Linked DNA regions of Homo sapiens: regions 1, 2 and 3 are each linked to region 4. The links are contacts of gene promoters, found by promoter capture Hi-C in blood cells and fetal thymus (Javierre and others, 2016). All regions are on one chromosome and are shown on one strand. Each heading gives the region's core, a stretch centred on a gene start or on the middle of the fragment in contact. The rest is flanking DNA. Distances are from core to core; before and after follow the strand shown. Region 1 overlaps PARP2 (poly(ADP-ribose) polymerase 2). Region 2 holds the start of DAD1 (defender against cell death 1). Region 3 holds the start of C14orf93 (chromosome 14 open reading frame 93). Region 4 holds the start of CHD8 (chromodomain helicase DNA binding protein 8).

What was found. Contacts are between HindIII fragments. The CHiCAGO score rates a contact against its expected background, and 5 or more counts as called.
Region 1: a contact is called between a fragment that was not itself captured here and the fragment with the promoter of CHD8 in region 4, in 1 of 17 cell types (monocytes). The highest score is 8.3, in monocytes.
Region 2: a fragment that was not itself captured here is called in contact with the fragment with the promoter of CHD8 in region 4 in 2 of 17 cell types (naive CD4 T cells and total CD4 T cells); the score reaches 5.7 in naive CD4 T cells.
Region 3: a contact is called between a fragment that was not itself captured here and the fragment with the promoter of CHD8 in region 4, in 2 of 17 cell types (naive CD8 T cells and fetal thymus). The highest score is 8.1, in naive CD8 T cells.

What each region holds. Positions count from the first base shown.
Region 1 is chr14:20,350,514-20,356,680 of GRCh38, reverse strand. PARP2 (poly(ADP-ribose) polymerase 2) reads right to left here. Exons shown (of 16, transcript NM_001042618.2): 5 at 6,059-6,155; 6 at 5,559-5,634; 7 at 4,334-4,436; 8 at 2,434-2,596; 9 at 1,734-1,872; 10 at 866-929; 11 at 650-784; 12 at 247-374; 13 at 1-91. Among named protein-coding and RNA genes, the nearest start is that of PARP2, 10 kb to the right of the region's middle. The HindIII fragment of the contact is 4,027 bases long and covers 2,351-6,167 here.
Region 2 is chr14:22,586,321-22,592,027 of GRCh38, reverse strand. It overlaps DAD1 (defender against cell death 1), which reads left to right and starts at 2,804. Exons shown (of 3, transcript NM_001344.4): 1 at 2,804-3,081. The coding sequence starts at 2,871. RefSeq lists enhancers at 2,524-3,165, 3,166-3,807. The HindIII fragment of the contact is 675 bases long and covers 3,239-3,913 here.
Region 3 is chr14:23,005,520-23,011,698 of GRCh38, reverse strand. It overlaps C14orf93 (chromosome 14 open reading frame 93), which reads left to right and starts at 1,556. Exons shown (of 7, transcript NM_021944.4): 1 at 1,556-1,598. It overlaps LOC124903286 (a long non-coding RNA gene), which reads right to left. Exons shown (of 2, transcript XR_007064075.1): 2 at 2,715-5,131. RefSeq lists silencers at 1,218-1,567, 4,479-4,528 and enhancers at 3,195-3,755, 4,689-5,058. The HindIII fragment of the contact is 3,706 bases long and covers 2,921-6,179 here.
Region 4 is chr14:21,453,188-21,459,218 of GRCh38, reverse strand. CHD8 (chromodomain helicase DNA binding protein 8) reads left to right here and starts at 3,096. Exons shown (of 38, transcript NM_001170629.2): 1 at 3,096-3,187. LOC124903283 (a long non-coding RNA gene) reads right to left here and starts at 2,822. Exons shown (of 2, transcript XR_007064064.1): 1 at 2,742-2,822. It overlaps RAB2B (RAB2B, member RAS oncogene family), which reads left to right. Exons shown (of 8, transcript NM_032846.4): 8 at 1-199. RefSeq lists enhancers at 1,696-2,247, 2,524-2,573, 2,584-2,633, 2,248-2,799, 2,664-3,353. The HindIII fragment of the contact is 18,756 bases long and covers 2,425-6,031 here.

The DNA of each region.
Region 1 (6,167 bases), core at 3,115-5,614, 1.1 Mb after region 4:
TGTGATGGGAGCTTCAGGTGGGGCAATTCGAAGCCCATGGCTCAAGATTCCCACCCAGTTACTCATCCTGGAACCATGCCATAGAAGCATCCTAAGGAAAAGCCAATATTATTGTACTCTGTTGTTCTGCACAGATAGGCCATAAGCATAAAAAAGCCAACACCTTCCTCTGACTCCCTCTTATAAGTTCTACAGCTGTACTTTCGGGCAAGGAGTGTCTTTCCAAACGCAAAGCTAGACTCAGACCTGTTATGAAGGTCCTCTCTGAAGGCTTCTTTCTCACCATCCTTCTCCACTTCAAACAAATCCAGCAAGGTCATGGTATAGTCGCTGTGTGTGGGAGCATGGGTAGATTGTAGGTACTGGGAAATCACCTGTGAAAAATAAGACAAAAAGGCTGATGTAGACTCTACAAGAGACTGAGCTGAACTGAAGAATTTGGGGATTCTGATATAACTTGGCAGACCTTTCTGCTCCCAAACAGTCTTACAAGGCAGCTAGGAAAAGCTTGGCCTTCCCAAATCCCTAGTACATAAAAAGTCTGCCCTAATTGACAATTTGCTCTTGACAAGAAGTAGTTAGAGAACAGTGGGATGGGGGAGGTGGTTAAGGGTGCAAGAATATGAAAATAAATGATCATTTTTCTTACTTTGAACTCATAACTTTCATGGTCAAGGGGGCGCAAGGCACAATGTAGGTTTCTATAGTGTTGGTCCAATGGGTGTTCTGGGCTTTGTAGCTCTGTTTTCACCAGCTTAATAGCAATTTCAATGTCTCCCAAAGCCTGAGAAGATGAGATATAGAATCAATGTGGGAGGACACTGGTATAAGGGATATAATACTTCTCAAATCATACATATCTCACCTCTAGTAATTGTATTTTTTCTGACAGTTCCTTCTGTGTCCGGATTAGTGGAGGAGTACGGAGTCTAAGAACAGAGATATAACCCATAATGAGCTTTCTGACATGTGGCTAAAAGGCGCATGACTAAAAATAGAAAATGACAGATAGGTCCTTTAGAAAACAGGTATGAGAAACAGGTTTTCCATTTGAGAGAGAAAGAGATCTGTAAAGAGATCTTAACTTCCAAATATATAAAATAATATTAAATATATACTCGGTATAAGATGAACTATGTGGATTTTGACTTTTGAGACTAGAGTTAAAATTATTTTTTATAAAATCATTTAAAAATAAGTTATATTGATATCAACAGGGAACAGTTGGATACAGTTCTATCTAGAAGCACAGGTAGACCTGTTGACCACTCAGGGTTATTTCTAGGTCACGGGGCTCTATAAAGCTATAAAAGAAATAGAAATCGGATGTAAACCAGAAAACAGAATCAACAAATGTAAAATGTTATTTTGTCTATCTAATATCACTTGAGTTCACAGAAATGGTGTTTGTGTGGTTTTAGTTACTCAAATAGGAAAAGGGGGTGATATGCCTGAAGGTGTTTTACTTGGGTGGTTGGATAGCTAGACCCATTCTCTCTTGGGTTGGTAACTTCCACTTTGTCAGAGAATATGGCTGTGGTCAAGCCGGGAGATTGCATCCCATATTTGTAAGCTGATTAAATAGGCTACCTATATATCATTTTGTTTCTGTACCTATTCAAGACGATCATTTTCTTAGGAATAAAAGATTTAAAAGATTATAGCTGCTGCTGATGGATACAGGGGATATGTATAGGTAGAAGAACAAAGTGAAGTAACAGCACAGGCCTTACCCAAAGTCATGCGGAATCCTGGTGTAGAATTCATTGCATGCTTCCATGAGAGCTCGTCCATGCTGGCCAGCCCGAATACAATCCTCAATCTTCTTAAGAGACTGGTAACCTGCCTTGATTTGTGCCACTGTCAGCTTCCCTGCAGGCCCACCCAGAGATCAGACTCCAAACTAGGATCCCATCTAGTGAACTGTACTTAACATCCTTCCCTAAAAAAGACTTTCATCTTTCAACTTTTTTTTTTCCTGTTTTTAAGATGGGGTCTCACTCCTGTTGCCCAGGCTGAGTGCCGTGGCACAAACACAGCTAAATGCAGTTCAACCTCCTGGGCTCCGGTGATCCTCCCACTTCAGCTTCGCAAGTAGCTAGATCACAGGCACACACCACCATGCCTGGCTAATTTTTCTATTTTTAGTAGAGATGGGGTCTCACCATGTTGCCCAGGCTGGTTTCAAACTCCTGGGCTCAAGCAATCCACCTGCCTTGGCCTCCCAAAGTGTTGGGATTATAGGCATGACCCATCACACCCAGCCTCAACTTTCAAAATAGTTCCTCTTCCCTCCATACAACCTGTCACCCCAAATCCCATTTTCTTCATTCAGTACTATGAGCAAGCTTTAAATCATAATGATAATAAAGTATCCATTAAAGGAGCTAGGAATTATAAGGAGAGAATGCAGAAGAAAATGTGAAGTCCTACCAAGTGGGGCTTTCTTGGTATTATACTTCATTTCCATCATCATTTCTTCCATGGCCTGAACATTACAGATCAACTTTATTAACTCCTGTACCCGAAGATCTAGCTGTGACTCTGGCTTCAAGGGAGATTTAAGAGATTCCTCTTTCTTTGTTTCCTCTTCATCCTATAGCAAAAAACAAACAAAACACAAGACAATCTAAGAAATCATCTCTAGATTCCTTATAACACCCAATATTATACAATGTAAATGCTTTGTAAAGTTTTTATATTGCACTGTCTAGGGAATAATGAGAAGCAAGGAAAAAAAGGCTGTACAGGTTCAGTACAGAAGCAATTTTTCAAACATTTTTGATTCTCAGTTCATTGAATCCATGGATATAGAGGGTTGACCATCCAAGTTCTGCCTCCCACATTTTACAACTCAGAATAAGTCTAGAAAAAAAAGGCTTTCCTCATGACGTCAGTGTGTAAAGACAGCTATTATGTCTCAGATCTTCCCATCTTAAAAAAGACTAAAACTTCTCCATTTTTTTGGATATGTGACTGTTTCCGGACAGTTTCAGCATCCTGGTATACCTCAGTTTATCTAAATTAAATTTTTTATGGTGGTATATATCCAGAAGTGAAAACAAATTTAAATGTTAATTGTTTAATCAGTTTGATTTTTTATCACTCCTCTCTTGGTCCATAACAATAAACTTCTGGTGCCAGCCGCAGTGGCTCACGCTTGTAATCCCAGCACTTTGGGAGGCCAAGACGGGCGGATCATGATGTCAGGAGATCGAGACCATCCTGGCTAACATGGTGAAACCCCGTCTCTACTAAAAATACAAAAAAAAATTAGCCGGGCGTGGTGGCGGGCGCCTGTAGTCCCAGCTACTCCGGAGGCTGAGGCAGGAGAATGGCGTGAACCCAGAGGCGGAGCGTGCAGTGAGCCGAGATCGCGCCACTGCACTCCAGCCTGGGCGACAGAGCGAGACTCCGTATCAAAAAAAAACAAAAACAAAAAAACGAAAAAAACAATAAACGTCTGGAAATAGGGCCTAAGATTTTATAAGAAACTTAGTAGGCCGGGCGTGATGGCTCACGCCTGTAATCCCAGCACTTTGGGAAGCTGAGGCGGGTAGATCACCCAAGGTCACGAGTTCAAGACCAGACTGGCCAACATGATGAAACCCTGTCTCTACTAAAAATACAAAAAAAATTAGCTGGGCATAGTGGCGGGCACCTGTAATCCCAGCTACCTGAGAGGCTGAGGCAGAAGAATCGCTTGAACCCGGGAGCTGGAGGTTGCAGCGAGCTGAGACTGAGCCATTGCACTCCAACCTGGGCAACAAGAATCAAACTCCAGCTCAAAAAAAAAAAAAAGAACCTTAGTAAATAACAGAGCCAAGACTAGAAAGGCACATTCTATCCTCATTCTTACTGTCCCTTTGGGATTACAAAGATCAGTGAGAGCACCCCTGAGGTGAGAAGTAGAAAGGATTCAAGATATCCTGGCCTGTCCCAGTCCAGGAATGATCTAAGCTATTCTGCTTTACCCTGAGTAAGAAGAAACAGGAGTAGGTGTGGTGCCTCATGCTTGTAATCTCAGGACTTTGGGAGGCCAAGACAAGAGGACTGCTTGAGCCCAGGAATTCGAGACCAGCCTGGGCAACATAGTGAAACCTCATCTTTACAAAAAAAAAAGAAAAAAAATCAGCTGGGCAGAGTGGCACGTGCCTGTAGTTCCTGATACTGAGGAGGCTGAGGTGGGAGGATCACTTGAGCCTGAGGATCTTGAGGCTGCAGTGAGCCATGATTGTGCCACCCAGCCTGGGCAACAGAGCACAGTTTTGCCTCTAAAAAATAAAATAAAAAAAGAAGATGTGTTTCTTTCGAAAAGTATAGTGAGAGTTACCTGAGTATTGGTGGCATAGTCCATCTGTAGCATATCATATTTTCCAGGCACCTTCTCAAACTTTTCTCGATCTTCCCAATTGTTTTTCGTTTTGTCAAGGAATCTGTAGAGTCCAAGGTGTAAGAAAACTTTACAAATAAAGGTCTACTATGAAGATGGACTTACAAGACAGAAAATCTCCAAAGAATTTATTTTCCAGCACTGAGCTCCTTTACACATCAACTTTCCATAAATCAAAATTAGTCTAATTCTAAATGAGGACACTAAATGGACAAAAAAGCTCTGGAGACAAATGGAATTTAAAAAATGGGAAAAACAATGCTTGTCCTTCCCAAACACCACAAAAGCCATTGAGATTTCAAACAAAAGATATCCATCTAATCTCTTTCCCTGAAAGAAACATGTTCTCCAATTCTCCAGAAAGTTCTTCATCTATATCATAAAGTTTTAAAAATTCTAACTGAATATTCTCTTTTTTTCTTTCCTTTTTTTTGGGGGAGAGTCAGGGGTCTCGCTTTGTTGCCCAGGCTGGTCTCAAACTCCTAGCTTCAAGCAATCCTCCTGCCTCAACCTCCCAAAGTGCTGGGATTACAGGCATCACCGTGCTCAGCCCCTAGTTGAATATTATCTATCCCAGGATAGTCTCCACTTATCCCAAATTTCCTAAATTTGTCAGTCATGTGTTAAATATATTAGATTCTTCTGTTTTTAGTGACTTTCAAGGTATTAGTTTGATTTAATCACTAAGGATGCAGTTTGGTGTTTCAACCACAGAATGTCAGGGTGAAAAGACATTAACATTTAGGCCAAATCACACCTATAAAACGAAAAGTTTTTTATAAGCCACACACTTATAAAATTCTTAGAGAAGGCAGGGCACGGTGGCTCACGCCTGTAATCCCGCACTTTGGGAGGCTGAGGCAGGCGGATCACCTGAGGTCAGGGGTTCGAGACCAGCCTGGCCAACATGGCGAAACCCCATCTCTATTAAAAATACAAAAATTAGCTGGGCGTGGTGGTGGGCGCCTGTAATCCCAGCTACTAGGGAGGCTGAGGCAGGAGAATCACTTAAACCCAGGAGGTGGAGGTTGCAGTGAGCTCAGATCATGCCATTGCACTCCAGCCTGGGCAACAAGAGTGAAACTGTCTAAAAAAAAATTTTTTAGAGAATATACATCTAAGAAGAGGAGGGTATATTTTTTTGTAGTCACTTTTCAGCACTCACTTCTTCTGAAAGATTTCCTTGGCCTTGTTGAGATTGCCTGAACAAGCCACCAGGCTGTGCTGTCCCATTTTCCCAACTGCAAAGGAAATGCCACACATAAGATAGTTCCCTAAGAGTAACAGGCCAGCTCTCCAAGATCTCTCTGCTTAACATCTGACAAACAGGCAGGAAAGGGAGAAGGGAAAGGTGAAAGGATTTAGGGAACTAATCATGTTGATACAAGTTACTTGCTAACTGCCATAGTCTATGAGCACTACTAGCAGTTCAACTATAGAAGAGTTTTCAGACTCAATGGGCTGCTCTTAGTTTTTCCAGTGGGAACTCTAAGGAGGATGCCTGCCATTCCCCAATTTCAAGATGCTCAACTTGATTCCTAAGGCTCTCCCAGACTTCAGAGCCTCTACTGACCCAATTTAAACCCAGAGAATCCTTTGGCCACCCACTAAGCTGCTTCTGACTTTCTGAATGCCAACTCATAAAATCTCAATAAAAATCATTACCTCGGCCCCATCTCATCCAAACACTGAAGTTCCTCTGGGCATCATCTTCTAATAGCTGAATCAGATAGTACTTGTTGTTGTTGAACTGGAGATTGGTCTATGTTGAGTG
Region 2 (5,707 bases), core at 2,327-4,826, 1.1 Mb before region 4:
GATAGTTAATAAGAGCAAACATTTACTGAACATTTACTGTCTGCCAAACACTATGCTAACAGCTTAATGCTTAACATTATCTCATTTAATCCTCACATAATTTCAATGAGCCAGGTATTGTTATTTCTGTTTTATAGAAAAGGAAAATGAGACTGTCAGACTGAGTAACTTGTTCCAGATTAGACAACTAGTAAACAGCAGAATCAAGGTTCAAACCTAGGACTGTCTGATTCTAGAGCTTGCACTCTTATCCACTACTCTGGACAAGAATTTTAAACTATATTAATATTCTGATTTAAACTAATTGAAATCAACACTAGTGTTAGCAATTTCCTATTGACAGATCAGTTAAAAATGTTTCAATGATTATAGAATCATAAACCGAATAGAGAAGTAGGCCTTTTCTTGCTGTTTTAAGTAGTTCAGAAAAGCCCTAGTGTAGTATATTGGTGTGACTAGCAGGTCTCAGAAACAAATGCATTCAATAAGTCCATTTGGTGTTTTTCATCTCTTCTTCTCTCCTGTGAGAGTTCCTGGGGAGATCTTAATGATGATAGTTGACATGGATCAAAGGCAGACAAAACATAAGGGAGAAAACACTGGAAGGAGCCTGGCTGATGGAACAGAAACTCCCTGAAGAATCCACACCTGAATGATTAAAAAGCATCAGCCTAGCCTGTAAAGTTTGAAGTTGAATATTCGTGAGGAAGCTACCCTCCTACTTGTTGATGAGGCAGAGAGAAAGGTTCAACTTGTCAGAGAAATTGATGCTTCCTGCCATATTATATTGAAATAAGAACCAGCTTGTTATCCACTCTTTTTTTTTCTTTCTCAGCAACATAGGTTTAGGCTGAACTTATGTTCATATAGCTGCACAAATCTCCACGGGTATGAATATAAATCTATCTATTCAAATAGACTCTAAAGGTTTCTTAGGTTATTTCTCTTCTTTCTAGAACTTAAGTAAGGCTTTGATCACCACTGATAATACATCCGTTAGTTAATGCGTGTAGAGTTTCCAGTCTAAAGGCAAATAAAAAGTGAAAAGGGGCCGGCGCAGTGGCTCACTCCTATAATCCCAGCACTTTGGGAGGCTGAAGCAGGCAGATCACCTGAGGTCAGGAGTTCAAGATCAGCTTGGCCAACATGGCGAAACCCCGTTTCTACTAAAAATACAAAAATTAGCCGGGCGTGGTGGCAGGTGCCTCTAATCCCAGCTACTCGGGAGGCTGAGGCAGGAGAATGGCTTGAACCCAGGAGGTGGAGGTTGCAGTGAGCCGAGATCGCACCATTCACTGCACTCCAGCCTGGGTGACAAGAGCAAAACTTCATCTCAAAAAAAAAAAAAAAAAAAAGTGAAAAGGCAGGAACGCTGTTGTTCACCTGCTGTTTTAGGAATTTTGCTCACGTACAGTTCAAAATATTAAGAAGCTGAAAATAAAGTACCTGGTCATGTGTGGAAAAACTTACAGCTAAAAGGTGAGATGAACTGGGTCTAGAAGGTCGGATTCACGTGAAATTAAAAGGGCAACGAAAGCCAGAACTTAATTTCTTAAAAAAAGTTAAAACAGGCCGGGTGCAGTGGCTCATGCCTGTAATCCCAGCACTTTGGGAGGCCGAGGCTGGCGGATCACAAGGTCAGGAGTTCGGGACCAGCCTGGCTAACAATGGTGAAACTCCGTCTCTACTGAAAATACAAAAATTAGCCGGGCGTGGTGGCGCGTGCCTGTAGTCCCAGCTACTAGGGAGGCGGAGGTTGCAGTGGGCCGAGATCGCGACACTGCACTCCAGCCTGGCCGACAGAGCAAGGCTCCGTCTCAAAAAAAAAAAAAAAAACAGTTAAAACCCTCAAAATAATCCCACTTGTTAAAATACAAAACCTGAAACCATTTCAGTTTCTTCTGCAAAATGAGTTGGAGAGAGTAGGGTTGAACCAGGCATGCTCTTTCGGGCCTTTCGACGCTGACATCCCGGGATATTACACCAGGTTCAAGATACCAGCTTGCGGAAAGAGAGCTGCTAAACTTGACCATATGCTTTTTGCACGACATTCGACAGCTGTCCCTCCCTTCACCAGCTCTTTTAAGGCTGCAAATATATCTGATTCACGTGAGAGTCCCTACAAGTTAGTACAACGTCAGGCCCCAAGGAGGCGCCCAATAAATGTTGGCATTGCAGGGCCAGATCCCGAGTTCCAGTTCAGAACCCTGCTGAGGTCAGGCTTCCTCCCTGCCTCCCGCCCCTCACCACACCCACTCACTCCCCCAAGTAATTAAGTCTAAACTGGGGCCTGTGCAGTGATTGGCCGCGCCGGGTCTCACTGCGGATGAACTTGACTTGTTCCAATGATCTGTGACAGACATCTGCAGACAGCGCCCTTAACAGAATTAGGGTCAGGCTGGTATCAAACCCCAGGAACGCCAGGCATTGCCTCAAAGTAGATGCAAACCGTTAAATCTTCCAGGACTCAGAAGGACCAGAGAGAGCCGGATACCTCTGGTTAGCTACGCGGTCCCCAGTAAAGCTTATTCCCCTCTTCCTCCCAGTGTGTCTTGTTGCCAGAGCAACTGTGGGCGTCACCGAGCTGACGGGCGGAAACAGAACAGAAAGAGTACACGTCCCCAGCTCATTGATAGGGCCATTGCGCAGACGCATTAACTTTTCTGAGTTGTAGTTGAGTCTGTTGATGCAGTCCGCGTCTGCGCATTAGTTGTTACGCGCCCTGGCCGGCCTCAGCGCCTGCGCAAATTGGCACACCGGGGAGGGCGGAGTTAGGTCACGAGGGTGCGCATGCGCAAACAGCACATCCGGTGTGGTCGACGGGTCCTCCAAGAGTTTGGGGCGCGGACCGGAGTACCTTGCGTGCAGTTATGTCGGCGTCGGTAGTGTCTGTCATTTCGCGGTTCTTAGAAGAGTACTTGAGCTCCACTCCGCAGCGTCTGAAGTTGCTGGACGCGTACCTGCTGTATATACTGCTGACCGGGGCGCTGCAGTTCGGTTACTGTCTCCTCGTGGGGACCTTCCCCTTCAACTCTTTTCTCTCGGGCTTCATCTCTTGTGTGGGGAGTTTCATCCTAGCGGGTAATGGTTCTATAAGTGATCATAATAATAATGTGTTACTTTGGTGTGCTGCTTTTGTTTTCATAGTACTCTATATCAGACCACCGCCCCTTGAAGTTATGAGAAGAGCCTGCATTGCCCTTTTGTTGTGAATGGGGAAATTGAGGCTCAGAAAGCTTAGATTATATGCCTAATACCAAACGGCTCCGTAGGAGTTGGACTTAAAAGTCTAAAGAAACCACCTTCGTGCCGCTACTCCACTTGGTGATCCACTTCACTTAATATTGGTCCGGGGAAAACCCTATTCCAACTTTAACTTAGGTTTAACACAACTCTAAAATTAGTAGACTTTTCAAATGAAAAACCCAACCTTGAATCATCTCTGTCATCTTGGCCTAATCATTACCAATCTCCGGTGAAACGTTTCAATGAAAGTGCAAAGAATATAAATACTGGTGCTTTTCTTGTTGAATCATCCTTTACTTGATTTTGCCTTTTAGCTGCTACTACTTTTTTTCTTGTTGAGGAAGCTGTTATTTCACTGTCCTGAACCCAATTTTTGTTCACATAACTCTATTTTAGCCTTATTTTTCCTTTTGATTCCAGGATTTGGTAACCTTGTAGACTGCTATATTTAGCGAGAACAGTCTCCATCAATTTTTGTTAAAATCTGACTTTTCTTGCCCAACGGGGATTCAGTGAATACTGAAAACAGGCGTGGCCTCTATCACTGGTATCACCTGCTACTTTGACTTTGAAAACATGCCAGCATTCATGGTTTCTTTTCAGTGTGATCATCAGTCAGGTCATCAGTTGTATTTTCAGTCCAATATGAGGCATTATGGTAAAAGCTTTGGCACATGTTCTTTATCCGTAAAGAGTTTATGGTCTAGTTGGGGTACAGACAAAATACAGCATTGGAATTGTCTGGAGGCCTGGCACAGTGGCTCATGCCTGTAATCCCAGTACTTTGGGAGGCCGAGGTAGGCAGATCACTTGAGGTCAGGAGTTCAAGACCAGCCTGGCCAACATGGTGAAACCCCATCTCTACTGAAAATACATAAATTAGCCAGGCATGGTGGCACACACCTGTAATCCCAGCTACTCGGGAGGCTGAGGCAGAATCGCTTGAACCCGGGAGGTGGAGGTTGTAGTGAGCCGAGATCGTGCCATTGCACTTCAGCTTGGGTGAGAGTGAGGCTCAGCCTCAAAAAAAAAAAAAAAAAGTCTGGTGACAGTGGTGCTGTGCTTAAAGTTACAGACCTATAGAATGCTTATTGTACATTTACATTGTTCTGACACACCAGAGATATTTCTTAGAATTTAAAACAGGTCTGAGGATCTAATGACTTGTGTACTGAAGTTGCAGATTAGCCTTTTGATTGGATATTTAGTTACCATCTTTGACTTTTGTCCTAGATGACCAAGACCTAGTTGTCTGTGGTGGCGTCCTTGCCTTCAGGATGTGTTAACCATCATCCGACCAGATACACTACCCCTTTGCTCTAAGTATTCTCCACCACCCACCCACCGCCCTCTGCCACGGTACTATATGTTTTTATTAGCCAGCCCGGAGAAGGAACCTTGATGAGAACTTTTGATTTAATTTTGTTTGATGTTTTTGTTTCCAGGTCTGGAAGAGTAGGAGCAAGGCAGGGTCTGAAAGCTGATTTTAAAAAAGATGCCTTCTCCATGTAGAAGTCACCCTGCCTTCATAAGCCTCTAGGGTCTAGAATGATTTTTCATGGATGCTTTGAAGAATGTGGTTTGCTGAAGAGTGGGCATGGACTAGAGTTATAGATTATCAGTGTAATAAAGCCAGAAGGTTTTTTTGAGCAAATGACTTTCACTTATGCCAAGACCTGTTTTTGAGCCCGTTGTGGCTGAAATTGAATTGGCAGACTGGACTGCCTTTCTCCTCTCCAGTGGGAACTAGGTGGCTTGTCATTGAAGAAAAACCTAGTAAAAGGGCATATTAGTAATGGGGCCAATAAGGGGGATTAGGATTTCCAGATCTGTTAGATAACAGATAATAGAGCTATAGAAATGAAAGCAACTTCAAGAAAAGAAGGGATTCATGATAATTCTTAGTTGCCACAGAAGGGTATGATTTACCCTTCTTTTGACAGCATTGACTTTCCTAAATCCTGCCTCTTCTGCCATTTGTTAGCCTAGATCATCAACTGGAGACTGGTTTTAATGGGAAATTTGGACGCTTATCCTTTGTTTTGATTGTTGGCAAAGGTAGCCTTGTTCCTTTTTATGGTGCTGGGGTTTCTAACTTTCCTGTGGAATTTCCTGTTGCAAGAGAATGGAGGAGTCCAGTGAGCTGGGAGAGGGAAATGTAGGCGATACTGTTGAAGGATTAGGTAGTGCTGGGTGCTAGATGTTTGAATGCCAGGCCAAGGAATTTGGACTTTTTTTGAGATGGAGTTTTGCTCTTTTTTCTCAGGCTGGAGTGCAATGGCGATCTCGGTTCACTGCAACCTCTGTCTCCCAGGTTTAAGCAATTCTCCTGCCTCAGCCTCCGAAGTAGCTGGGATTACAGGCATGTGCCACCACGCCCGGCGAATTTTGTATTTTTAGTGGAGACGGAGTTTCTCCATGTTGGTCAGGCTGGTCTCAAACTCCTGACCTCAGGTGATCC
Region 3 (6,179 bases), core at 3,524-6,023, 1.6 Mb before region 4:
TGATTTTTTTGGTCAGTGTTTACTAAATATCTACAATTATGCCAGCTACTGCAGTAAGAATCAAACAGTTCCTGGATGGAAAAACAATTTTAAGATATGATCACTGACCTCAAACAGTTTACTGGAGTGAAATTACTAAAATATGTGAATCAAGGTAGAGTTACGTGCCGCTAACTGGAGTACACATGAAATTCATGTTGATGGGAGCGGAGAGAAGGAAGTAAGCAGTCTGTGCTGAAAGAGAATGGATAAAAATTGACCAGTCAGGGAAGGGGAGACGCATAATTCAGGCCAAAAAAAAAAAAAAAAGCCACTTGAGTAAAGGAATAATACAAGATTGATAAGACGAGCGTAGAGGGAACTAAGAACAAATATGTGCCCAGGCGCGGTGGCTCACGCCTGTAATCCCAGCACTTTGGGAGGCCAAGGCGGGAGGATAACTTGAGGTCAAGAGCTCAAAACCAGCCTGGCCAACATGGTGAAACCCCGTCACTACTTAAAAAAAAAAAATAGCCGGGCGTGGTGGCATATATCCGTAATCCCAGCTACTCGGGAGGCTGAGGCAGGAGAATCGCTTGAGCCTCGGAGGTGGGGGTTGCAGTGAGCCGAGATCACATCACTGAAAAAAAAAAAAAAAAGGCAGGGTGGGCACATCACCTCAAGTCAGGAGTTCAGGACCAGCCTGGCCAACATGGCGAAACCCTGTCTCTACCAAAAACAAAAAAAATTAGCTGGGTGCAGTGGCGCACGCCTGTAGTCCCAGCTTCTTGGGAGGCTGAGGCAGGAGAATCGCTTGGGCGGGGTGGGGGTGGGGGTGGGGGTGGGGGCGGAGGGGCGGAGTTTACAGTGAGCGAAGATCATACCACTGCACTCCAGCCTGGGTGACAGAGCGAGACTCTGTCTAAATAAATAAATAAATAACAAATAGGTGGGTGGGACCAGATTATGGGTGGCTTAAAATCCAGGTATACCAGCTGTCTTCCTGGAAATAAAGAGGAGCCACTTTAGTTTTGAGAATGTGGTCTGAGCCAGGTAGATAAACTGGGAGCTCGGGCTGAAGTGTAAGACTTCAGAAAGATGTTCCATACGTGAATGTTCATTTAAACGTGGGGGTGTTAAGCAACACACGTGACCCAGAGACATTTCACCTGGAAACCGGAGTAGGGCCCACGCACCAAGTCCCTGATGTTTAATTGCAGTCTAGAATGTTACTGACTAGTTCACTCAATTTAACAAAGTGTCCGGAGGTCGCTCACTGGATTGTTATGCTGGTGACTGGGCCTTGTTTCACTGAGAAAAAAAGATGGGAAAGGGTGACAGGACGGTGAGAAAGTGAAAGGGAGAGAGGTGGGAAAGGGGTCTGCCAAGGTCCAGGCGAGGTTGGGGGTCGGGGGTCCGGCGGCCCTCAGGGCCCCCCCCGCCCCCAACTCCGGGGTTGGCGCCTCGGGCGCGGCGCGTGTGCTTGCGGGCGGGGCGCCCCGCGGCCGCGGACGGCCAATCCGGGAGGGCGTCCGGGGAGGGGCGGGGCTTGCCGGCTCGGGCTCCGCGAGTCCTCCTTTTTGCACACACACGAATACAAAGAGCCATACGACCTTCGGGTATCCTTTTTCCATTTTTTTTCCTCCTTAATCTTGTGTGTGTTTTCAAATTTTTTAAAAATAGAGATCTGTAGCAGTGTTGGGGTGAGGAAACTGTTGCTAAGGGGAATTTGCTCTTTCCCCCATTTCTTTTTCTGTCTCTCTTCCTCTTTCTTTTTCCTGGTCAAGGTTTTAAATATACCAAGAAGTTGAGAAGCAGGATGGCCGTGTACAACCGTTTCCGGCCAAATTTATAGTTTTTTTTTCTTTTTTTTAAATCACATTTTAAGAACTGGTAGATTTTTGTGGTTGAGGGACTTTAAAAATTTAGCCGCTTGGGAAGTACAGAATTTTTTAAGCGGGCTGAAGGGATAATGTAAATTTCTGCCACAGGCAACATCGAAGGAAGCAGAGAGATTTGAGGCTCCCTCATAAAGCCGTTTGCGTGCTTTTTACACACCCACCCCCCCAGAACCAAAACCAAGTGGCTGGGATGTGGCACTTGTCCAAGGCCAATAAGTTAATATTGGGATATTATAATGGAGACATTCATTTCCCTAGGGAAGGGGGAAAGACCTTAATTACAGTGTGTCTTTCACACACATTTTCATTAGAACATTTGTGTGTGTGTGTGTGTGTTTCTTGAAACAAATTTGTAAAGTTATAACTTGGGGTTATTTGTGTATATGTACAATATGTGTGTATATGTGCCATATCAGATTTTATTTTCAAAAGTGATAAATATATCTGGTTTTATGTGTGCAAAGTATCCCCTAGGATGTGAATTTTTTTCCGTTGTCTTCCCAAATGTGATCAAAATATTTTGTGTGCAAAGCAGAGCTTAGAAGAAATCCTATGCTTAGCATACTTAGGCACTTTCTATGTGCATTTACTATATTTTTCTGCTCCTAAAGGATCAGAATAATGAATAATTAAATAATTGCCAAGGAGTATATAGTCCATGTGGCAAATGAGAGTAGGCAATTTATTGAATCTGTGGTTCAAAGCCTTCAGTGACTGTTTTGCCTAAGTGGTTTTGCTTTTTATTGTCTCACGTTCTTAAGTGTACAGCTGTGTATATTTTGGCCTTTATGTGTGGTTTGGTTGGTGTGTTCAGAAGGGAAGTTCTTTCTTGGCTTTTTGACAAAATGGTCGTTTATTGGTTGGAATATTCGAAAAGCTCCACAGCTGGCAAAGTATCAGGAAAAAAATCCAGTCAAGTGTAATTCTCAAAAACTGTTCATGGTGATGGTGATGGGGAGCCAAGAGGATGCAAAGGCAAATAATAGAAGGGATAAGAAATGCCTTTTGGTTATCATGTTGCATTTTTAGAATGGAAAGCTTCTCATTTCTAAGAGTCACAGAAAAAAGTATATGAATTAGAGAAAAACAGGCTCGCAGAGCAGAACCTCCTGTTATAGGAGCCCTATTTTCACTTCATTCTGTTACAGAATCACTATCTCCTCATTAGAAGTTGTATGGAAAATATCTGTATCCAAATTTGTATTCGCAGATTGGAGTGAAAGCATAGGAGGTATATGAGGTGCTGAGGGAGAAACTGGAATGTCACAAATGCAGTGACAACCAGGAGACAAAAAAAAAAATCTACTGTAGAATTTAAATTTCATTACAACAAAACTTCTGTATAATAATGCATTTCTATTACACAGCTAGCATCCTACTCTATTTCAAGCAGTATTTGACTCCTAAATACTGACTGCAATAAAGTTACTTGTACAAATTTATAACAAAAGTGGCCCTGTTTGGGCTTTCTGGGTTTCTTACTTGTGCTGAGTGTATTTTTATTCTCTAACAATTCAAGTCAGACCAGTGCTTAATAAATACTGGCTCGACTGTGGATTATTCCACAATTTCAGACCTGCATTTCTTTGAAATCTAGTCACATTTTAGTGATCTTTGTGATCACAACAGTGATGGGAGTTTTTTTTTTTTTTTTTTTTTTTTTTGAAACGGAGTTTCGCTCTTGTTGCCCAGGCTGCAGTGGCAATGGTGCGATCTTGGCTCACTGCAACCTTCGCCTCCTGGGTTCAAGCGATTCTCCTGTCTCGGCCTCCCGAGTAGCTGGGATTACAGGCATGTGCCACCATGCCGGGCTGATTTTTGTATTTTTAGTAGAGACGGGGTTTCACCATGTTGGTCAGGCTGGTCTCCAACTCCTGACTTTAGGTGATCCGCCCGCCTCTGCCTCTCAAAGTGCTGGGATTACAGGCGTGAGCCACCGCGCCCGGCCAGTTACGGGAATTTTTAATGGAGTTTTACCCTTTTTAGCTCTTTTCCACATCACTACAGGTCATCACATATACTTTTTACCTTACTTTTTAGCGTCTCAAAAAATAGGGAGAGCTCTCCCTGAACAGTGCAGAGCCCGTATCCCTGATTTCCTAGGCTATTTGATTTCTACATCCAGGAACGTAGGGTCATATCCACTGTTCTTGCTTTTTCTTCCTAAGAAAGGAGAGAATTCCTCGCACATATATATCGTTGGCTTGGCCTTCCAAAGCAAAGCAAAACTAAACTCTGTTGATTTTGCCTGGGAATCCTCGGGGCCCCTAGTATTGGAAACTTCTTTGAACTGTGAGGAGCTGCTAATTTGCAGGTGACATGTGAAAGAAATGTAACCGAGGCCAGCAGTAACTAAAAGTCGGCCACCACCCAACGTGTGACGCCGATTTGTGGCCACTGTGCTTATAATCGTGTACACACAGGTTTGTGAGCAGCAGAGAACAAAAGCAAGTAAACAAAAACAAGCTAAAGATGGCGTCTGACGGCCTTGAAAAAGCCTCACAGTCTTGTCCCTCCCTGAGGAGGCCCCTCCCCTACCTGACTTTTTGAGTGACTGTTGTTTGCAGCCAATAGTGTCCGTGACCCTGCTCCCCAGCCATCGTCTAACCGCCAATCACCGGGAGCCAGAAGGCAAACGGGGCGGTGTCTCCCCGCGTGCGCGCGGTAGCCGGGTACACGGGCAGGCGCCGCGGATAGTTCTGTCTCCCGCGCGCCCGCCTCCGCCTCTGCCTAGCTGAGTCAGCCCGTGCGGTAGCGCCAGGCACACGCGGTAGAACATCTGTAGGGCTGCAAAGCTGCACCTCCGCGTCAGTTCTCACGGCGAGCGCCGCCTTCAGCCCAAGTTCTCAAAGCTCTCGGGGCTACGTAGTCTACCCTCCCCGGTGACCCGGCGAGATCCCTAGCCGCTCCTCCGGCCGCTCTGCTCTCCGCATCCCTCGCGGGAATGACCCCCTTTACCCGGGACTCCCAGAGCGCACTGTATGGTAGGGCACAGTGGCGAGTCACCCTGTCCCCTGAGGCCTCTTGAGCAGTCGCCGATCTCTGCTTCCCGCGTCGCTGCGATCGCCTTTCCCGTAGCTGAATCACACTGACCCATCGGAAACGGTTCTGCCCTCCCTGGGGTCCACCTTGTCATCCTTGACTAATATTTAATCAACTAACATTTACCAAGTTCTCGCTGGCACGAGTTCTAGGAGCTACTTTTTCATTTTTCAGTTTCTCCATAAATGCAGTGGGTCCTTTAGGCAAACCTGAAATCGGAAATATTAATCTTACCAATGTAATCTTAGCAAATGTAAATAAAAAGGACTGTGCTATACTGGGCTAAAAATTCTCATCCTGCTATAGAAATATACGTGGAATTTTCAGATTACGTGGAATCCTTTAAAGACCGCATTCGGCCTTCTGGGTCTACAGCTCTCTTTTTTACCCCTAAAAATAAGGTCTTGGATTTTTTGCAGACCATTAGTCGAGTCACTCTTTTAAAATGTGGGAAAATAGTATTTTGTGGTATTTACTTAGCTGCTCTTGTGTGATAAGGAGCTCATTTCTGATAAAAATAGGTTTTGAGAGAACCTTTTGACAGGTGAGCCATTTTGCACCTTGAAGTGGAGGAGTAGGACTGACCAACACAGCAGGAGCTTTAAGTGGCCGTTTTCCTTATTTATTTCTTAAAATGAAGATTATGATATGAATTGCCATGCTTTCAGTAATCACATTTAAGGAAGTCTATTGCTAGCATGACCCTGAATGAGTCAAGCACCCATTATAAAAACATATATCATCTGAGTGATACCATATCATACACATCTATTAAATAGTGAGAAAACTTTTATTTTTCATAGTTTGGAGGTGAACTCAGTCATGCAGAAAATTCAAACTCAGAATGGGGAGAAAGCAAGCAAGGGAACTGCCAAGAGTATGATATATTTAGTCCTAACAAAAATGTGACTTGGGAGGAAAGGGATAGTTAAAATTATGGACAGTCTTACCCTGAACTGTCTGTCTAAAGGAGATGAATTGTCTTTCTTTTTTATCTAAATATTTATGAAAAATACCAAAAGTACTGGAAAGTACATTTTTAAGGCTCGTTTCACATTTATTTAAATTAGACCAATACTGAAATGAACCCCAAATGCTTATATTTTTTGCAAACCTAAGTGTGACATCTACTGTCATGTTGTGTTGGCAACGCATCCCAAGATTGAAGATCTTTTTCTCTTTTTTAGACCTAGTCAGTTGTTTTCAGGACTTTCTACTTAAACATGTTGCCATCATTTGAAATTTAAAATGTTAAAT
Region 4 (6,031 bases), core at 1,847-4,346:
TCAGAGCATATAATACTATCTTAGCCAAACTTGCCTTTGCTTCACTCATCATGCAGCCTTCTGGGTTGGTTGCTATATATATCTTTTTTCCTTGATGTCCCGTTCTCTTCCACAGCCCTGAGGTCTTACGAATTTTTCTACTTTCTTTTTGCTGTTGATGAATTGTTTCATTATTAAATATATGCATGTATCAAAGCTATTCATACTCCATGTGTCATTTCTAATTGTATCCCAAACATTAGTAGATACTCTCCTCTCAGGGAATTAAATCAAAGATAATGAAGAAGCCTCTTTGGGATTCATGCTATACTCGATTCTGACCCCAGTAGTAGTAGTAATAGTTGACAGTGCACCACAGGAAGTTGGAAGACATTTGGGGTATTGCTTTGGTTATGCTTTTGTTTTGTTTTTAAAATCCTATCTGATTCCAAAAAGGATTTGAAGCTGTTGAACTTGGAGTTAGCCTGCCCCCTTACCTCTGGGCGAAAACTAAAGTAATAAAAACTAGTTTCTGTACAGAAGGTTTTTTTTTTGTTTTTTTTTTTTTTACTACCCAAAAAAACAATCTTTAGCAATTGAGAAGCATTAGAGGATTGGTCAAAGACAGCATTCTGCCTAGAGCTACTGCTTTCAGAGTCAATAAAGGATACCATTTTGATATTTTGGAGCACAGTTTTTTAATATTAATGCCCATATCTTGTTCTATTAACCAAGCCGACTTATGACCTTCTGTACTTGGGTATTGCACCAATTGTAAGGGAAGCATGAGAAAAAAAAGTATCTGGGCAAAATCATCTGTATTCTGAGTGAAGTGGTCATGAAGAATTATAAAAAGTGGATATGCCACCCCATATGAAGAATGGTAGTTATGAAATAATGTCCACTTTTTTTTTTTTTCCATCTATAGTCTTACCAATGTCCATTGGTTTTTGAAGGCCAAGACCATTGGAAATCATACTAAGATCAGTGTAGGTACCAGAAATTGGTTCAGGCACACCTGTTCCCATTTCCATAATATCTATAGCTCCTTTGATGACAGGTCTATTCTGTACCAGATGGATAATAGGCTCTCATCCTAGAAACTATTAATAATTAAGGTTATATCTGTATATGCATTTACAGACAAACACATTGTTCTGATAAATCTTAATACTAACATCAAATTGATATAATGGCAGCAGTAGCCAGGAGAGAATTTGGTTGACAGATTTTTTTTTTTTTTTTTTTTGAGACAGAGTTTCCCGCTTGTTGCCCAGGCTGGAGTGCAATGGCATGATCTAGGCTCACCACAACCTCCGCCTCCCGAGTTCAAGTGATTTTCCTGCCTCAGCCTCCTGAGTAGCTGGGGTTACAGGCATGCACCACCACACCCAGCTACTTTTGTATTTTTAGTAGAGACGGGGTTTCTCCATGTTGGTCAGGCTGGTCTTGAACTCCGGACCTTAGGTGATCCACCCGCCTCGGCCTCCCAAAGTGCTGGGATTACAGGCGTGAGCTACCGCGCCTGTCTTGGCTGACAGATTTTGATACACAGGGAAATGTATTTGGCCAAGTCTTTTTTTTTTTTTTTTTTTTTTTTTTTTTTTTTTTGAGATGGAATTTCGCTCTTGTTGCCCAGGCTGGAGTGCAGTGGTGAGATCTTGGCTCACCACAACCTCCGCCTCCTGGGTTCAAGCGATTCTCCTGCCTCAGCCTCCCGAGTAGCTGGGATTATGGGTGTCTGCCACCACGCCCGGCTAATTTTTTTTTGTATCTTTACTAGAGACGGGGTTTCACTATGTTGGCCAGGCTGCTCTCGAACTCCTGACCTCAGGCGATCCACCCGCCTCAGCCTCCCAAAGTGCTGGGATTACAGGCGTGAGCCACTGCGCCCAGCTTAAGGCCGAGTCTTATCACTCATATGACTTCTTGATGTCTCTGAGCTCCTATCATGTAAGACCATGCAATTATGTTACTCCTTGAGAAATTCCTTTAATAATCTGGAAGGATTCCCTCACTCACAACTTTAAAAAAGATTTCTTGGCCAGGAATGGTGGCTCATGTCTGTAATCCCAGCACTTTGGGAGGCCGAGGTGGGCGGATCACTTGAGGTCTGGAGTTCGAAACCAGCCTGACCAACATGGCGAAACCCCGTCTCTACTAAAAATACAAAAATTAGCTGGGCGTGGTGGCGGGAGCCTGTAGTCTCAGCTACTCAGGAAGCTGAGACAGGAGAATTGCTTGAACCCGGGAGGCAGAGGTTGCAGTGAGCCGAGATCGCCCCACTGCACTCCAGCCTGGGTGACCGAGCGAGACTCCATCTCAAAAAAAAAAAAAAAAATTAGGCCTTTAAAAAAAAAAAGGAATTCCTCCTTAAGTCCTGTTCTTGATTTCCAACTGATTCACAGTGCCCCTACTGGAAAATTTGCAGTGAATCCTAAAGCTTAGTAGCACCTATAATAGATACATGTCCTGATATTTTGAGTGAGGTGTCCATAAAGGATTACCCTAGGAAAGTGCAACTTTCACTCTCATTAGAAGAATTAATTTTTGCTTATTTGATTTGTTAAAATTGCTTTACTCCTACAGTTAAGTGAGAGGGTGGTGGTGGTTGTTGCCCGTAACCACATACGGCATTACTCCAGGGTTTCACGTCGTGACTGAGGGGCCTCCTAAGTGTATACAGCAGAGTATGTTCGGGCTGGACCTAGATAGTCGGACAGAACACCGACAGGGTCTTCACATTCTTTAAGCACTCTCACCCAGTCCCGGAGTCCGAGCCAAGATGGCTTCCCAGAAGTAGGTAACTAAGTGTTGTTTTAGTTCACAGCGCCCCCAATGGCGGGGGTCAAAAAAAGATGCCGAGGGGCCTGGCCGCCTGTGAACTGAGTCGTCAGAGGCGAGCCGCCGCCAGATTTTATTTTCAATCAGGCATATTTGTGGTCGCCTACGTACCCTTCTCATCCTCCTAGGACCTTCCACCCTCAAGAGACTTCCTGGATGGCGCTCACACTAGCTCGCTGGAAGAGGCCGGGCTTCGGTGCTGCCATTGGCGGATGGGAGCGCAGGGGGGCGGAGCCTAGGGAGAATGGACTACTAGCAAGCTAGATTGAGGCGAGGGCTGGCCATGCTCCGCCGGAAGGCGCCTTGTTCTCGGAGAGGGTGAGTTGAAACGCTGCCTGGAAAGGAAGTACCAGGACTTGCACAGGTAGGCTTCCCGCTCGCACCCGCTCCTCAGTGCTGGGCCAGGAGTCAGCAAAAGCTGAGGCTCTCAGAGATTTGATTTAAGTAACTCCTTCTCCTCTCTCTTCCACCCCCTGCTCGCCCCCCAGTTGTGAGGGATCAGGTGCGGGGTGATGCTCCGGACTGAACCAGTCTCCTTTGTGAGAGGCCGGGGGAGAGGGTGGCTGCCGGGCCGCGGGGTCCGAGCCGGGCCGAGCCGCGAGGGACTGCTTGGGACGCTGTGGAGTTTTCAGGGCTTGTCATTGCATTACTGGGCGTAGTGTAGATTGGAGGCGGCGCCTTGTTCTCCTCTCTTCAGAGAAGGGAAAACTCCTCGGCCCCGTTTGGTTACTCCATACTTTGGATTCAGAAATAGGTGGTTAGGGTTTTCTACTTCTTTTTATTTTTTTTTCTTCTGTATTTTAATAATAAAGGTGGGTAGGAAAGCATGGGGTAAGCGTAAGCAGATTGTTACTCATTCTCAGGTGTAAGTTCTGTGGGTCTCCTGGCAGTGAAGAGCAGGCTGTTGGAGAATGTTTAGAGATGGTGGGAAGAGAGGAGCTCAAGCCTTGCATCCTCCTTGACAGGTCTGCAGAGCTCACTGGTTTTCCGTTGCATTATGTAAACTCGTCACTGATAGAAGACCCTTCCCCCTGCTTTGGAACGAATGCAGTTTATTTACCTGTCTCTAGTGTCGCAGGGAATTTCCCTGCAGCAGCTGTATAAATGCAGCAGCCTCTTGCTTTTTAAGGGACAGTCTTGAAGCGGTTAGGGTCTTCACAGAAAAGGTATATAGTGGACCCATCTCTTTCGTATGGCTAAGCAAAGTGAGCCAGAAGTCAAAGATTTAGAACTCTGTCTTTTTCTATTAAAGAATAAACAGCGGAGCGCCCCAAACACAAGCCAGGGGAGCTGCCTTATCAGTGTCTGCTGCATCCTACCATCACAGCGGCGTCTACAGATCGTTTCATCTCCATGCTTTTCTGAGTTTGTCGACTCAGTCAAGGATTCTCAGCCTAGGTTAGCATATGCTGAAGTCATCTGGTGTGGGGCACATTACATATCGAAAGTGAGTTTGTGATTTGAATCGTGTCCTGTGTTAGTTAATTAGATCGTGTCTTCTGCTTAGGAATTTCTTTTGTATTGGTCATCCAATAGGTTTCAGAACAAATTCTAGTCAACCTCATAGAGCAAGATATGAGAAACTTATTTCAAGTACTTTGGAATTATCCCAACCCTTAAAAAAAGAGTTATGATAAGAAAAACATTTTCCATGTAAGAAGACCTTCTGCTGCAAGAGAGGCGTGTCAGTGGATCTGAAGGCAAGTGAAAGATATTGGCCAAAGAGAGAGTAGGCAAGTTTGAAGAGACAGGCTTAGGAGAAAGTTTAAAACTGAAATAGTGGCTCACGCTTGTAATCTCAGCACTTTGGGAGGTGGAGGCGGACGGATCACTTGAAGTCAGGAGTTCGAGACCAGCCTGACCAACATGGTGAAACCCCGTCTCTAAAAGTACAAAAAATACAAAAAAAAATTAGCCGGGCATGGTGACGCGTGCCTGTAGTCCCAGCTACATGGGAGGCCAAGGCATGAAAATCGCTTGAACCCTGGAGGTGGAGATTGCAGTGAGCCAAGATCGTGCCCCTGCATTCCGGCCTGGGCGACACAGCCAGAGGATAGCAAAGGAGTAATGGATTGGGATAAGGGATATAATGGAACAGTGTATGAGTACTTGAACAGTTTTTGTATTCTCCATGTTTGATCTGTCCTGTGCATCTGCTCTTTTGGTTTTGTCAGTTTTCTTTTCTTTTCTTTTCTTTTCTTTTCTTTTCTTTTCTTTTCTTTTCTTTTCTTTTTTTTTGAGACGGAGTCTTGCTCTGTCACCCAGGCTGGAGTGCAGTGGCAGGATCTCGGCTCACTGCAACCTCCGCCTCCCAGGTTCAAGTAATTCTCCTGCCTGAGCCTTCCGAGTAGCTGGGATTACAGGCGCCCGCCACCATGCTTGGCTAATTTTTTTTTTTATTTTTAGTAGAGACGGGGTTTCACCATATTGGCTAGGCTGGTCTTGAACTTCTGACCTCGTGATCCTCCCGCCTCGGCCTCCCGAAGTGCTGGGATTACAGGCATGAGCCACTTTTCTAAGCAAAATTACCACTTAAGATTAAGTTGTGGGTGTCAAAACTGTGTTTGCTTACTGAAGAAATAAGATTTGATATTCTCATATGTGAAAGGACTGTAACATTCAGATGAATGCTAAATGCTTTAGTGAACTGTTTGTCTACAGCTCTGGAAGAGTTAAGCTATCTTCTGAGCTTACATTGAGCCTAATACTTGGGAGGAAAACAGAAGACAAACATTTCTCTCGAGTCTCCACTTTCACCTCTAGAATCTCTCTACTTCTGGAGTTGGATTTGAGCCAGTCCTTGATCTGCAGGTCTTCGCATGACCTGTCCTTACATTACTGTGACCATTGTGGTATAATATTTACTATTTTACCTTTAGCATTTGATTCATTGACAGACTATCATGTTTCTTATCTCACTTTAACTTTTTATATCCCCTCTTACATGATCTATGATCTTTTATTCTTTTGTCTCACCAAGTTGGTGATCTTTTCATCTTCCTGTGATTTTGCTCACTTTCCTTTTCACTTAATTCACTGACGTTGTACACTTTTGCTTCTGTTTAGCTGAAACCTTTTAGGGAATGTAATTTCTGTATTTTTAGTAGAGACGGGGTTTCACCATATTGGCCAGGCTGGTCTTTAACTCCTGACCTCGTGAAAATTGAAACCTTTTAGGGTATCTAATTTTCAAGATGTGGTCTTTCTT